Regions from separate parts of the Homo sapiens genome. Here all the other regions are linked to region 4. The links are contacts of gene promoters, found by promoter capture Hi-C in blood cells and fetal thymus (Javierre and others, 2016). All regions are on one chromosome and are shown on one strand. Each heading gives the region's core, a stretch centred on a gene start or on the middle of the fragment in contact. The rest is flanking DNA. Distances are from core to core; before and after follow the strand shown.

Region 1 (2,700 bases), core at 158-2,657, 4.1 Mb after region 4:
AGCTGTTATGTGTAAAGTCTCAATATTTTGGAGATAATAATCATATACTTTTTTCAATGTCTAATTTAACCAATTTGCTTTAGCCTTCTATACTTCACAAAAGCTACAATAAGAAAAGTTGACAGGTGAGATTTTATTATTTCTTCAAGACAAATACTGAAATCCCTGGAGCAAGAGTATATTAAATGAACTTATTACAAATTCCAAAAGACAAAACTTCTTTATATAGAGTAAATATTTTCATTTATAAACTCGAGCATTCACAATCCAAATGTTAATGAGAAAGTCTTTTCATACCCATTTCTGCGCAATTTACATATTCATTCTTCAAAACCAGATATACTAGAATGTGAAGATATATTTTTTATTATATACGTTTAACAACATTATAATACCCATTTCAGAAAAAATTCTTTATCTGCAAAGCACCAATTTAATACTGCTATACTACAATAAGGTTTCTACTGCTCAGTATTTACGAAAAATAATGCTACAACTATTAATTCCATTTGGGGGAAAAAAACTGATTCAAGCACTAAAAGTAAAAATCATGATCAACAATTCTATTTCAGTTTTCCATTTATAAAGTCTCCTACATGGGCTTTAACCATTCACACTTGTAAGCAACTGTCCATAAGGTAACATTCTAGTTATATTCTACTTTTCTGTTGAACAGGTAGATGCCTACCTATAAAAAAAAAGTACACCTATTTATTCCTACCTCTAAAATTACAATCAGAAATACCCAAATACCTTAATAAGCAACCTAAAATGCCTAATAGCTAACTGACATAATGCCTGGAAGCTACCATCAAAGAGGCTCCAAAAACCATCTATATAAGGAGGCAATCCACAACTTCCTCCACCTACTTCCTGGCTATATGCCTAGAGAATACTGTAATGACAGCAAGCCAGGCAACTATGTTATCGGTGGAGGCAAATTCAAATCTCTGCATTCTAAACAAAATATCAAGTCATAAAACTAACCTCTAAAGGATTACTATTAATGAACACTAAGAAGCACCTCTCTGATTTTGTCACTGGGGGGAAAAAAGGGCCATAGTACCAAATATCACCTGATTTACCTCCCAATTCATAACAATGCCAAACAAGGACAGAAGAAAAGAGAGATGGATTCAAGCATCAATTCTCACTACCCTTGGGAGGGAGGACAAATATGCCATAAGAAGTTTAGAAACAAAAACTCCAGCCCGGGCAACATGGTAAAACCCTATCTCTACTACCGAAAGAAAAAAAAAAAAAATCAGCCAGGCATGATGGCATGCACCTGTAGTTCCAGGTACTCAGGAAGCTGAAGGAGGAGGATCGCTTGAGCCTGGGAGGTGAAGGCTGCAGTGAGCTGAGATTGCGCCAATGCACTCCAGCTAGGGTGACAGACTGAGACCCTGTCTCAAAAGAAAAAAAAAGGAAGGAAAAGAAAAAGAAACAAGCAAAAACTAATTTATGGTGATAGAGGTTAGAGGTTAAAATAGTGGTTACTTCTGTAGGGAGAAATTAATAGGAGGGAGCACAAGGCACCTTTAATCAGTGAAGAAAAATATTCTACATCTCTATCTGGGTATTTCATTTAAAATAGGCTCTAATCACGGAAAATGCTTGCATTCCACAATTCTCATGTCTGTGCTTTTTTTACATCCTCTTCTCCCCAGGTGTAACCCAGTACCTCCCACTACCTGGGAGTTACCTAGGTATACTTATATGTATAAATTCACTGAGTTGTACTTAAGATTTGTGCACTTCACTGTATGTTATACCTAAAAAAAATACTTAAAAACAAGTAACCAATTAATAGCTAAATCTAAAAACCTTTTCTCAATTCTCATCCTTCTTTATCAATCTCCATCATATTGTTAATCACAGAACATCAATATTCCCTAAATGAAACACTTTCCCTTTTGAAGATCGACTAGGCTTTGTTAGGATGTTTTTTCCAGCATTTTCTGTAGTGTCATATTAATTCTCTCTAAATATTAATTCAATATTTATCTTTTTTCTTTTGTTTTTTGGAGACTGAGTCTCACTCTGTCGCCCAGGTGGGGATGCAGTGGCATGATCTTGGCTTACTGCAACCTCCGCCTCTCATGTTTAAGCAATTCTCCCGCCTCAGCCTCCCAAGTAGGTGGCATTATAGGTGCACACCACCATGCCCAGCTAATTTTTGTATTTTCAGTAGAGACGGGATATTTCATCATATTGGCCAAGCTGGTCTCAAACTCCTGACCTCAGGCGATCTGCCGACCTCAGCCTCCCATAGTGCTGGGACTACAGGCATGAGCCAATGCACCCAGTTAATTCAGTATTTATCAAGTGCTCATGTATGAGACACGAATTAGGCACCCTCCAATATATATTTCCAATCTCTCTCTCACACACACACACACACACACACACACACACATACACACACACACACACATATACACACCCAAACCAAATTCCCTAAACTGGATTCAAGCCACTCTATTACCTGGTATCAAACTGTATTTGCTGTTTTAATTCCTATCACTTCTTTATGGGAATATTCTTCTCAAGCATTTTCTGTTCTCAGCTATCCTTTACGGTTCAGTTCAATTTCTATGTTATTCTTTCCCTATACCCCATAGGACTTACTATCTGTAATTGCACTGTCCAATACAGTAACTTCATGTGGCTACTGAATACCTGAACTCTGGCTAGTCT
Region 2 (2,700 bases), core at 110-2,609, 3.1 Mb after region 4:
TTGCTTGGAATTGGTGTCAAGATAAAGTGGTATGTAGTGACAACATTAGGGAGACATGGGAAAGGACTTATGTGATTAAACTGGATTTAATCCTGAGTAACCAGGCATGCTTAAGTAAAACCAGTTCACTAAGTAGGCTGTAAACTTTTAACCCCACCAAAAAAATGATCTTTAAATGAGGTGTGATCTCAGCATATGTCTTACTCGATGAGCTTTTGATTTTTCATAACATTTCATGCAACAAAGAATTAAAGCTTTCATATCTAGGTACAGATTTGTGAAAGGGGACTGGAATAGCCCTCTTGTAGATACTTTTCAGTTACTTTGAAATAGTAAGTTCAGCTCTTAAGAGTAGCACACTCTCGTGGTTTTGTTTGTTTTGGTTGGACTTTAACTCATTTTGATGTAGATACCTTTAAACTATGAATATTTGGGCTGGGCACGATGGCTCACACCTGTAATCTCAGCACTTTGGGAGGCGGAGGCAGAAGAATCCCTTGAACCCGGGAGGCGAAGGTTGCAGTGAGCCGAGATCGTGCCATTGCACTCTAGCCTGGGCAACAAGAGCCAAACTTCGTCTGAAAAAAAAAAAACAAAAAACCAACAACAAAACAAAAAACTATGAATATTTGAAGTGGCCAGAGTTGGGAGTGAAAATAAAAAATATATTATTGTATTTTCATGCTGTAGTTTGATGATAATGCCAACACCCAAGGTATAGCAGAGGCTAACAAAGTGGAGGTGGGGCAGTAGAAACAGTTCTTTCCACTCCCCACCCAAGGCAATAAGGGAATCCATTTCTATGGAGAATTGAAAAACAATAATAAAATGTAGTATGTCTGCTTTCTGTTATTGCCATATGCCAGAATTCTAAACAGTGTCAGTGATAGAAATTCTAAACAATATTAGTGATGAAATACGCCCTGTCTCACTGCCCAAATATACCACTGCTGTATTTGGAAGATGGAGTTTGACTAACACCATATATGAATCTATTCCTGTATAGTGTAGCAGGATTCTGTTGTATCCAGATGACCACTATATTAAATTCTGTTCTTTCAGTATATATTTGTAAAATTAACTAAAGAATTTAACAGTTGTTAAATTAGTTTTGATGAGGAAATTGGCAATATGGTTTTCAGTGATGACACATTCTGCTTGAATATAGAACACAGTCATATATGTATATGCATATGCATGTCTCAGATAAGATCTTGAAATCTTTTTTTTTTTGAGACAGAGTCTCGTTCTGTCGCCCAGGCTGGAGTGCAGTGGTGCAGTCTTGGCTCACTGCAGCCTCTGCCTCCTGGATTCAAGTGATTCTTCTGCCTCAGCCTCCCTAGTAGCTGGGACTACAGGCACGCACCACCAGGCCCGGCTAATTTTTATATTTCCAGTAGAGAAAGGGTTTCACCATATTGGACGGGCTGGTCTCGAACTCCTGACCTCGTGACCCGCCCACCTCACCTTCCCAAGTGCTGGGATTACAGGCGTGAGCCACCGTGCCCGGCCAAGATCTTGAAATCTTTAAAGAGCAAATTAAATGGTAAAAGAAATTAACTTAGCAAAAATTTCATGTTACGTACAATTCTCAGATGTCTTTGCTTTTGCATTATTTGATACATAATTTAATCTATCTGCCTTTGTGTTACTTGGTACAAATCAGTGCTGAATCCCCTCTTTTGGCTGTTATTATGTATCAGGTGTTGTAAACTAATGTTTACCATAATTTGGATAATAAACCTACCATTTGGGGAGATAGTGAAGAAAAAAGAGATACATTTTCTGGAATGGAGTATTGGTAATTATTTGTTTTAACTATTCTCAGTTTTGCAGATAATTGGGTTAATGTCATTTTAAAAATTGTGCTTGTTTTTTACTGGATCGGCATATAATTTTGAATTATTGCTAATATCACACTAATTCCTTTTTGTTAAATGTGTCTTCATAGATTACACACACTCCGCCTGCAGGAATACTTATCAGGGCTTTAATGGTAAGTATCCTCTTTCAGCTTTTCTCTTCATGCGCATAAAAATATAGTATCAATGTAAAAGGCCAGTTCTACCTATTTCAGTCCTTGTTTTGGTTCTTGATATATCATTTATGTGTTAATATTGTCTTACTATATATAGTATTTGAATTGGGGAATGTGCTATCAGAAAATGTTAGGGGTTATTCACATTAGTTTGATTTTTTTTTTGGTCCATTTTGTTTGAATTATGATTATTTTAATGTGTTCCAAAGGGCCTAACTACATTCTGAGTGATGAATCACAAGACACTGGCTGAGTTATTTTGGTTGAATTAGAGGCTTTGGTATTGAGTAATGTAGACTAAGTGGATTATTGGCTTGGTTCTATATAGCTTGTATTGTAATGCATTTTGACCTTGTTTTTGAGGTCATTTTCTTCAGTGTGTCCAAATGTGTTAGTATATAAAGAGCTGTCTAGAGGAGCACATGAAGAAGCTTGATTGTTTATTGACATGAGCATGACATTAGACTTGTGACTATAGAACTAGATAGAATCATGAGAGGTATGTAGAATACAATTGGATGTCATTTTGATAGTTATTAGAGTTAGGGCCCTGCCACACAAGATAATAATACAAAAAAAGAACACAGAACAATTAATGCAGGTTAAAAAACATATGAAGGACTTGAGGCATTAAATATCATGATTGCCAGAGAAATGTAAAA
Region 3 (2,700 bases), core at 54-2,553, 4.1 Mb after region 4:
TGATTAAGTTCCTTAGTTTTGGATAGCTAATATCAACAATCCTTTGACCAATTTTATAGGTTACCCAAATGTAGGCCAATTTGTGATTATCTATTTATATATACATATATGTAGATTATATATGTAAATATAATTTATATTTAAATGCATATATTTGTATATACATATATATAATCTACATGTATGCATATATAGATAATCACAATATATGCATATATAAATGCAAATATATATACATATAAGACCTGTGTGTATATAATATACATATAAATTATGTATATACAAATATTTATGTATGTATATTTATATATAAATATAATATACATAAGTATGTGTACATATATTTACATATATGCTTTCCTTCTTGGCATATGCCTGCCTATACATTCATTTTTTTATTTTTTATTTTTTTGAGAAGGAGTCTTACTCTGTAGCCCAGGCTGGAGTACAATGGTGCAATCTCACTGCAACCTCCACTTCTTGGGTTCAAGCAATTCTCCTGCCTCAGCCTCGCGAGTAGCTGGGATTACAGGTGAACACCACCATGCCTGGCTAATTTTTGTATTTTTGGTAGAGACGGGGTTTCACCATGTTGGCCAAGCTGGTCTCAAACTCCTGACCTCAAGTGATCCACCTGCCTCGGCCTCCCAAAGTGCTGGGATTACAGGCGTGAGCCACCACGCCCGGCCCCACCTGCATTTTAAGTTAACCATTGTGGGCCTGCCTTGATACTTCAGCAGTCCCAATTAATGTAATTGGCTGATTGGATTCACCTGGGCTTCTGTCAGAGCCACTTTCCGTCACCCTCTTACCTCATACTCAAAAACCACTCAGTGCTTCTTTTGTTATACTTATCTCATGTGTACATAAACCCCACTATAACTGAACAAATAGAATCTAAAAATTCAGTTTCACAAATTACAAGGTCATATTATTATGAGATTAATGAAATGATTGGAGTGATCCCACATAGTTTGCTGGAGAGCACCAAGTGTCTGGCTGTGTGACCAAAATCCATTCTGGTCTCAGCTAGAGTTCGGAGCCGTCTGCTGGTACTTGACTTCTCCAGCTTAAATAAATATACAGGGGATAACTCTAGGCTCTATGACTAGCTGGGAATTACAGAATCGTAGCACTGATTCCAGGAATCTCTGGGCTTCTTGACAGCCATTTGATCTGTCTAATACAGGCAGATTGGGCTGGGAGAATACTGGGAATGCAGAGTCCCACTTCCTGGGTGTGCAGAGGTCCACTTCACCTTGTCTTCCCCTCCAAGATAGGAACTTTAACCCACCACATTGAAAACGGGAACTGGGGAGAGGGCAGGATTAATAGCCAGATGTATTAAAATTGGTTTTGCATTGTCAGGGAACATAATTTCACCATGTTATTTCTACATTATTGTACATGTGGATTTTACTATAATTACTTGTTTAATGACTACCTCCTCCTCTAGACTCTATGCTACGTGAAGATAAGGGCCCTATTAATCTTGTTTCTTACAGTGCAGGGCATTTCTTAGCTCACATTAGTTGCTTAATAAAAATTTGTTAAATTAAATCGATGTCATATCTAAGAGAAGACATAAAATACTTTTTTTTTCCTTTTTTTTTTTTTAAAGATAGCATCTCTCTCTGTTACCCAGGCTGGAGTGCAGTGGCATGATCATGGCTCACTGCAGCTTCGACCTCCCAGGTTCAATCAATCCTCATGACAGCCTCCTGAGTCGCTGGGACTATAGGCACACGCCACCACGCCCAGCTAATTTTTAAATTTTTCTGTAGAGTTGGGGTTTTGCCATGTTGCCCAGGCTGGTCTTGAACTCCTGGGCTACCCACCTAGACCTCCCAAAGTGCTGGGATTACAGGCATGAGCCACTGAGACTAGTGAAGACCTAAAAGACTTTTAAAATCTAGTTGGGGGGAAAGAGTAGGGGTAAAGATATTCTTCGCAGAGGGAAACATGAAAAAAGTATAAGAAGTACAAGAGAGTATGCCATGTTTAGGGAATGGTAAGTAATTCACAAAACCAGAGTATACATGCAAGAAGTGGCAAGAGTAAGTGTGGTAAGAAATGAAACTGGAAAGAGAAGCAGAAGTTGGATTGCTAAGGACAAGGAACTTGGACTTGATCCTAAGGGCAATGGGAAACCATTGAGGGATCTTAAAAGGAAATTAAATGGTAAAATTTGCACTTTAGAAATATATACAATGTATTGAAGAGGTAAAACTGGATGCAGAGAGAAGAGTAGGTTATTTATGCAGCTTGTACCTGCATAATCATAGCACATGTTACAGGAAGCTGCCCTGCCCTCAGCTTGCATGGAGAGGTAGTGCTCAGCAGCCCTGCTTTGCACTCTGCAAAACTGCTCTCCCCAACACTTAGCTACATCTGACTGGACACGGGATGGGCACCTGATCCGAAGGAAACTAATCCATAGGCTGGCAAGTGGTCTATGACATGGCCAGCATGGAAAATAGTAATCAAGATAGTGTGGTATTAACATTAAGATAGGCAAATAGATCAATAAAAGAAAATAGAGGGTCCAGAAATAGACCCACAATTACATGGTCAATTAAATTTCAGCAAAGGTGCAAAGGCAATTCAATAGAGAAGGATAGTCTTTTCAACAAATGATACTGGAAAAATTAAATATCCATATGTAAGAAATTGAAATTTGATTCATATACTAAAATTAAC
Region 4 (2,700 bases), core at 201-2,700:
TGGATAAGTAAATTAAACCAGGTCTCCTTATTAGAGACTACCCGAAGAATTAAGCTAGGATAAAAAAACGTAAAAGCTTTCAGCACTGTGCCTAAAATTTTACTATTCACACAGCAGAACATGGATATGAGAAGAAATAAGTTAAAAGTACACTTTTCCCATTCAAAGGTCACCCATCTATTCTGCCAATAGAGAAAAATGAAATAAAAAACGCTGCCTTAAAGAAGACAACGAACATCATTTAAAAAACTAACTTCAAAAATGAATTATACTTTGGTATAGATAACTCCTTTTACTCCAACAACATTGTTTAAAAGCACAAATCGCACTCAAGCGCAGCCAGCCGTATATGAATAGCAGAGGAGAACGGAAGTTAAGAGACTAACAGAAGTAGTGAAAATGAGAGAGCACGCGCGCGAGAGAGGTAAACACAAACTGTTCGCCTGGACCAACGACTTGAAGACTTGCCTCTAAGAGTTGGAAGTCTCGTCATGAGTCTCTTGCATTTCTGTCCATTTAAAAACAACCTCCACTTCTTGCCAAGCTTTATTATTCCCCCCTCCCACCTGGTGTGGTTTACAGATTGTTTTTAGCAAGAGCCGTATAAGAGAAGCTACGTACCCAAGACAATCTGAAATCAAGAGAAAACTGCTGCTAGAAACCCAAGGCGGGGAAGGAGAAGGATCAACCGAGAAATTAAGCCACGTTGCATTCTGGCCGCAGCAGTCATTAAGGAAGCGCAGTCCTCCCCACCCTTTTCAACCAGGACCGAATGTTGCGTCTTTCTCAGCTGCAATCACTCCTACTCTCCCTGTGGCAGCTGCGAAGGTGATCTACACTCACCGCTTGAAGCACAGTCGCCAACAACAACCGTAGCCCAAACGCCGGCACCAGACACCCACTCGGCCCAGCCGCCATCGCTACCATTTTCCGCAGGTTTCTGGCTGCCTAGAAGGACCCCTAAGCTAGGGGCGTCCACTCCAGAGCCTGATCCAAAACAGAACGCTAACGGCCGTTGCCCTTACATCTCTCATTTGGAAGTGACAGGTATTAAATAACGGCATATGAAAGCTTAAAAGTCATCAAATACAATCACTGGGTGCTTTCGATTACCCAAATCAGGCACTTGCCTAAACTCCCCACTTCTTTACTTCTGCGGTCTCCTTTCTTTTATTCACGACACTTCGTCAAGCAGCCAAGAAGCCACGCCTTCGCCAGTTTTAGCCCCGCCTTCTTCTCCAAGTTTACCCAATTGAATGTCGTCTTGATTGAGCTCTGTGGCAGAGGAAACCAACCGTAAACCGAACCAAGAGCGAAGCGCAGGGGCTCTTCCGTCCAATAAGCGGACCCGAACGGGGGGAGGGGCGGGGCTTCTGGTTGCCGAGCAGCGTACGCGGATGCGTGCGCGTGGTGGCGGAGGGGGATGGGCGGGGGCGGGGATGAGGGCGGCGCAGCCGCAGCGCCGGTGGAGGGGCGCGCGGCCGCGAGCAAAGGAGGGAGGGAAGGAAGGAAGAGAGGGAGGCGGGCAAGCAGGCGGGCGCGGGGGTCGGGGACTGAGGCAGTAGAGGGAGGCGAGAGCCCGGCAGCCGCTTCGCGCTGTTTGCTGCGCGGGCTTTTGGAGGGGGCGGCCGTTTAGTCGGCTGAGGAGAAGCGGACACCAGCGGCGTTGGTGATAGCGCCTGGGGGAGGGGGACTGGAGAGGCGAGAAGGGGGGTCGCTGCGGTGGTTCTCTCGCTGTCGCTCTCTCTTTGCCTCGCTCCCGGCTCGGCGGGCTCCTCCCGGCGTCTCTCTCGCCTCCGGGGTCCCGCTCCCCGCCCCCCGCGGTATGTCTTGATCCCGAGCAGCGGGTTTCATGGGGCTCCTCAGGATTATGATGCCGCCCAAGTTGCAGCTGCTGGCGGTGGTGGCCTTCGCGGTGGCGATGCTCTTCTTGGAAAACCAGATCCAGAAACTGGAGGAGTCCCGCTCGAAGCTAGGTGAGGAACTGAACTGCCCCGGGCTGAGTGCTGTGGAAGGGGCCGAGGAGGCGCTGCCGCCGGAGCAAGTGGGCGTTCATCTAACCTGGGGTCTGGCTCGGGGGCTGAAAGCGGTTTCAAAGAGAACCGGGAACAAGGGGCAGCGAGAGCACGAGCTCCAAGAATGGGTTGAATTAAGCTTGAGCGGCGTGCTGGGCTCGCGAGGTCACGGGGCAGAGGTTGCAAGGTTGGGCTTCCCTAGCCAAAGGGTAGCCCCGAAGTAGGCATTCCGCGGAGAGAGAGCGAGAGAGAAGACCGAACTCAGTGGGGAGCGTGTGTTGCTGGTCTCCGGAGACAGAAGCGCTTAGCATCGCGTGTTCTCTTGGAAGTCGTACAGGAAGCCCTGGCAATGTCAGATGAGGGGTATTCTAATTTGAGCTATGGGCATCTGGATACGAATTCTTTTGGGGGCTCATGAAGGGATAGGTGCGCAGAAATGGGAGGAGATGCTGGGATGACGGAGAGCAACATGTGAACACTGTAGCGAGTTGCACTCTTGTGCTCCGGGCAGCAAAGGACCTTGTAATTGCCAGCTGAGGGAGGCTGGCCGGGTAGTGCGGGAACGCGAGTGCAAAGCTTCATCGGAGTACGGAAATGAGGGTCCGGAGATTTAAATTCTTCTTTAGTGGCGCTAAACTGATGAATTGGGGCTTGAGAATAGGGATGCCTATGTATGTTGCTTCAC
Region 5 (2,700 bases), core at 128-2,627, 4.6 Mb after region 4:
CAACAGAAGAATACCAATGCTTGGCTGTGATTGCCAGGCCAGCTCAAAGCAACAGCAAACCAAGCTGGTAGTACCAGGCCATCTCCTGGATGTCAAGGTCTGCTTTTCTCTTTCTCGGTATCCACACTAGAATCCTTGATTTACTCTCTTCCACCTCACTCAATCAAAAACCATTACCTCACAGACTTCCCTTCTATGTGGCACTACCACCCACACATATGCTAGCCCAAAACCTAAGATTCACTGTTGATGATGCCCTTTTCTTCATTTTCCATAGCCAATCACCAAATCCCATTGTCTTCTTTCTTTTATTTCTTCCGCCATTGTTCTGGTCCAAACTACCATTATGTTTCTCCTAAACATAAAGTGCATCCTATTTCCTCTGCTTCCACACTTGCCCCTCTACAATCCATTCTCTTCATAACAGATAGATCATATTACTCCCTTGCTTTAAAACTTTCAAATAGCTTCCAATTGTACTCAGAACAAACACTAAACTTCTTACCCTGGCTTTCAAGGACCCTGGTCTGGCTTCTGCCTAACTCTCCACCTTCATCTATCTGGGACTATCTTGCGGCTCACTCACTATGCTTCCCCCACACTGGCCTTTCCTGCCCTGCCCCTGCAACATACCAAGTTCCTCTTTCTCTCTGCATTTGCCCTATCCTTTCTTTGCCAGGACAACAGTCTCCCTACCAGCTCTTTCTCATCCAGGTCTCTTTGAGAGGGCTTCCCTGACCATCTAGATGCCACCTTCCTGGTCAGTATTTCCCTCAAGTAGTAATCAATGCCGGAAAGAATACTGTTCATTTATTCATCCGTTATTGTCATCGCTTCATTGGAATTTAGCTTCCTACAGGGATGGTGTTTATCTTGCTCACTATGATTCCAGCCCCTAGAAAAACCCACCTACCTCATAGCCAAGGGCTCAGTAAATAGTATACACTGCCTTCCTGCCACTGTGCTAATTTCTACTAACACAGCCACAAACAATCAGCAATTACATTTTCTGCTTGTTTTTAACGGGGAAGTAGGGCACTCAACGAAAAGGAAATAAAAGCAGAGTCAAGAAAGTGCCTTTTATCCATGGAGTGCCCAATGTGTTGTGCGGCCGGCCACGTATATAGGGATGTGTCAGCACCTGAGATTTTTCCTTCTCTGAGCTAGCTTCTTTCCTGGAAATCATGCTGGGCCCTTAGCCTTATGGTTCACCCTGTTTTTTAAGATCATCCACGGGCTTCATTCCCGTAACCGCTCTTCTAGCTGGCCAAGGCGGCGGGAAGAAACCCCACCCTCTTGCGCAAACGCCCAGTAGCGGAATCCGCGGGGTCGAGGGCTTTAGTGTGCGCATGTGCAACCAGAGCGGCGGCGGGAAGTGTTGCGCAGGCGCATCCGATCGACTCGGTAGGTGGGGATCTCTTGGAGACGGCGACCCAGGCATCTGGGGAGCCACAGAAGTCGTACTCCCTTAAACCGTGAGTTTCCGACGGTTTGTTCCATGGCGCGGGATTGTGAGGGATTAGGAACGAATTCTGGATCGTGACTTCGGTTTTCTCGCCGTGCAGTTCCTTTTCCCGCCCCCCTTCGGATCCCTCCGACCTGCGGCGGGAAAGTCGCGCGCCTGCGCACTAAGCATCTGGTTCGGTCTCTGGCCCGAGGGAAGCCGGTCCTTCCCGGCTGAGCTCGCGGCCAGCGCTGGCCGGCGGATTCCCATTCATTCACCCTTCTCCTCCTCCGCCCAGTACTCGTGGCCAGGGTCGTATCAGTTCTCCGTCAACTTGCTTGGGGCCTTGGACGAGCCTCCTGGCGCTTCCTGTCAGTGGCGAAAAGGTTTTCTCCCTCAGTTCTTTTCCTGACTTCAAACCGCCCCCGGCGCTCGGCCCCTCCCCCACGCGGTCCCGCTGGCTGTGCCGGACTGGCAGCCTCGCCGTTTCCCACTGCGCCTGCTGCTGCGCGGGTGCCCAAGCCGGGAAATTCTCCCTGCAGCCCCCTGCCGGTGTTTCTGATAGGTGAAAATAAAGCACATGGAATTCCTTAGACAAGGCCACAGTATGCCCTACTGTGGAGGTTTGGACACATCGTGCGTTTGAAAATGTTTGCCCCTTTGGGGGGCAGTAGCATGTTTTTAGTGCGTGGTTTAGCGAGTGATCTAAATTTCTCTAGTGTTCTAATTTTCACAGCTGCTTTGCTCCCCCTGTGGATGTAACCCCTTAGCTGGCATTTTGCATCTCAATTGGCTTGTGATGGAGGCGTCTTTGGGGATTCAGATGGATGAGCCAATGGCTTTTTCTCCCCAGCGTGACCGGTTTCAGGCTGAAGGCTCTTTAAAAAAAAACGAGCAGAATTTTAAACTTGCAGGTACGTGTTTAAATCCAAAGATGTACAGTTATAAAGATTTTTCAGGCAACAATTCTGTGTTTTCAATTCCTCTCAAAAAATAAGATTGAATCTTATAAAGTGAATTGTATGTTTCTATAGGACAGTGTTAAAACAGAGCTTCGTATGATCTAAATGTAGGACTGAATTGCGATTTGGAAGACTGTAATACAACCTGTTTTACGGTTGAAGTTGCTATGGTCTCAGTATTGGTAATTAAGAATGCAGAAATTTGATGATGCCCAAATTAAATTTCTCTTTTGTATCTGTGTTCTTATCTCTACTCACCACATTGCCTTAAGCTTAAATGTAGAAATTGACACT

What was found. Contacts are between HindIII fragments. The CHiCAGO score rates a contact against its expected background, and 5 or more counts as called.
Region 1: a fragment that was not itself captured here is called in contact with the fragment with the promoter of HS2ST1 in region 4 in 1 of 17 cell types (total CD4 T cells); the score reaches 5.3 in total CD4 T cells.
Region 2: a contact is called between a fragment that was not itself captured here and the fragment with the promoter of HS2ST1 in region 4, in 7 of 17 cell types (total CD8 T cells, naive CD4 T cells, fetal thymus and 4 more). The highest score is 13.2, in total CD8 T cells.
Region 3: a fragment that was not itself captured here is called in contact with the fragment with the promoter of HS2ST1 in region 4 in 1 of 17 cell types (non-activated CD4 T cells); the score reaches 6.5 in non-activated CD4 T cells.
Region 5: a contact is called between the fragment with the promoter of CDC7 here and the fragment with the promoter of HS2ST1 in region 4, in 1 of 17 cell types (activated CD4 T cells). The highest score is 5.5, in activated CD4 T cells.

Annotation. Positions count from the first base shown.
Region 1 is chr1:91,011,065-91,013,764 of GRCh38, forward strand. All of the region lies in intron 1 of ZNF644 (zinc finger protein 644), which reads right to left. Among named protein-coding and RNA genes, the nearest start is that of ZNF644, 9.6 kb to the right of the region's middle. The HindIII fragment of the contact is 3,689 bases long and covers 1-2,700 here.
Region 2 is chr1:89,996,159-89,998,858 of GRCh38, forward strand. ZNF326 (zinc finger protein 326) reads left to right here. Exons shown (of 12, transcript NM_182976.4): 2 at 1,952-1,996. Among named protein-coding and RNA genes, the nearest start is that of ZNF326, 2.4 kb to the left of the region's middle. The HindIII fragment of the contact is 2,215 bases long and covers 253-2,467 here.
Region 3 is chr1:91,029,194-91,031,893 of GRCh38, forward strand. No RefSeq gene overlaps it. Among named protein-coding and RNA genes, the nearest start is that of ZNF644, 8.5 kb to the left of the region's middle. The HindIII fragment of the contact is 3,917 bases long and covers 1-2,700 here.
Region 4 is chr1:86,913,185-86,915,884 of GRCh38, forward strand. HS2ST1 (heparan sulfate 2-O-sulfotransferase 1) reads left to right here and starts at 1,451. Exons shown (of 7, transcript NM_012262.4): 1 at 1,451-1,976. The coding sequence starts at 1,853. SELENOF (selenoprotein F) reads right to left here and starts at 942. Exons shown (of 5, transcript NM_004261.5): 1 at 844-942. The coding sequence starts at 927. RefSeq lists enhancers at 239-853, 702-751, 854-1,468, 862-1,021, 1,072-1,191. The HindIII fragment of the contact is 1,083 bases long and covers 1,070-2,152 here.
Region 5 is chr1:91,499,474-91,502,173 of GRCh38, forward strand. CDC7 (cell division cycle 7) reads left to right here and starts at 1,378. Exons shown (of 12, transcript NM_003503.4): 1 at 1,378-1,475; 2 at 2,181-2,358. The coding sequence starts at 2,244. LOC105378856 (a long non-coding RNA gene) reads right to left here and starts at 1,375. Exons shown (of 3, transcript XR_947599.4): 1 at 1-1,375. RefSeq lists an enhancer at 2,020-2,219. The HindIII fragment of the contact is 5,865 bases long and covers 1-2,676 here.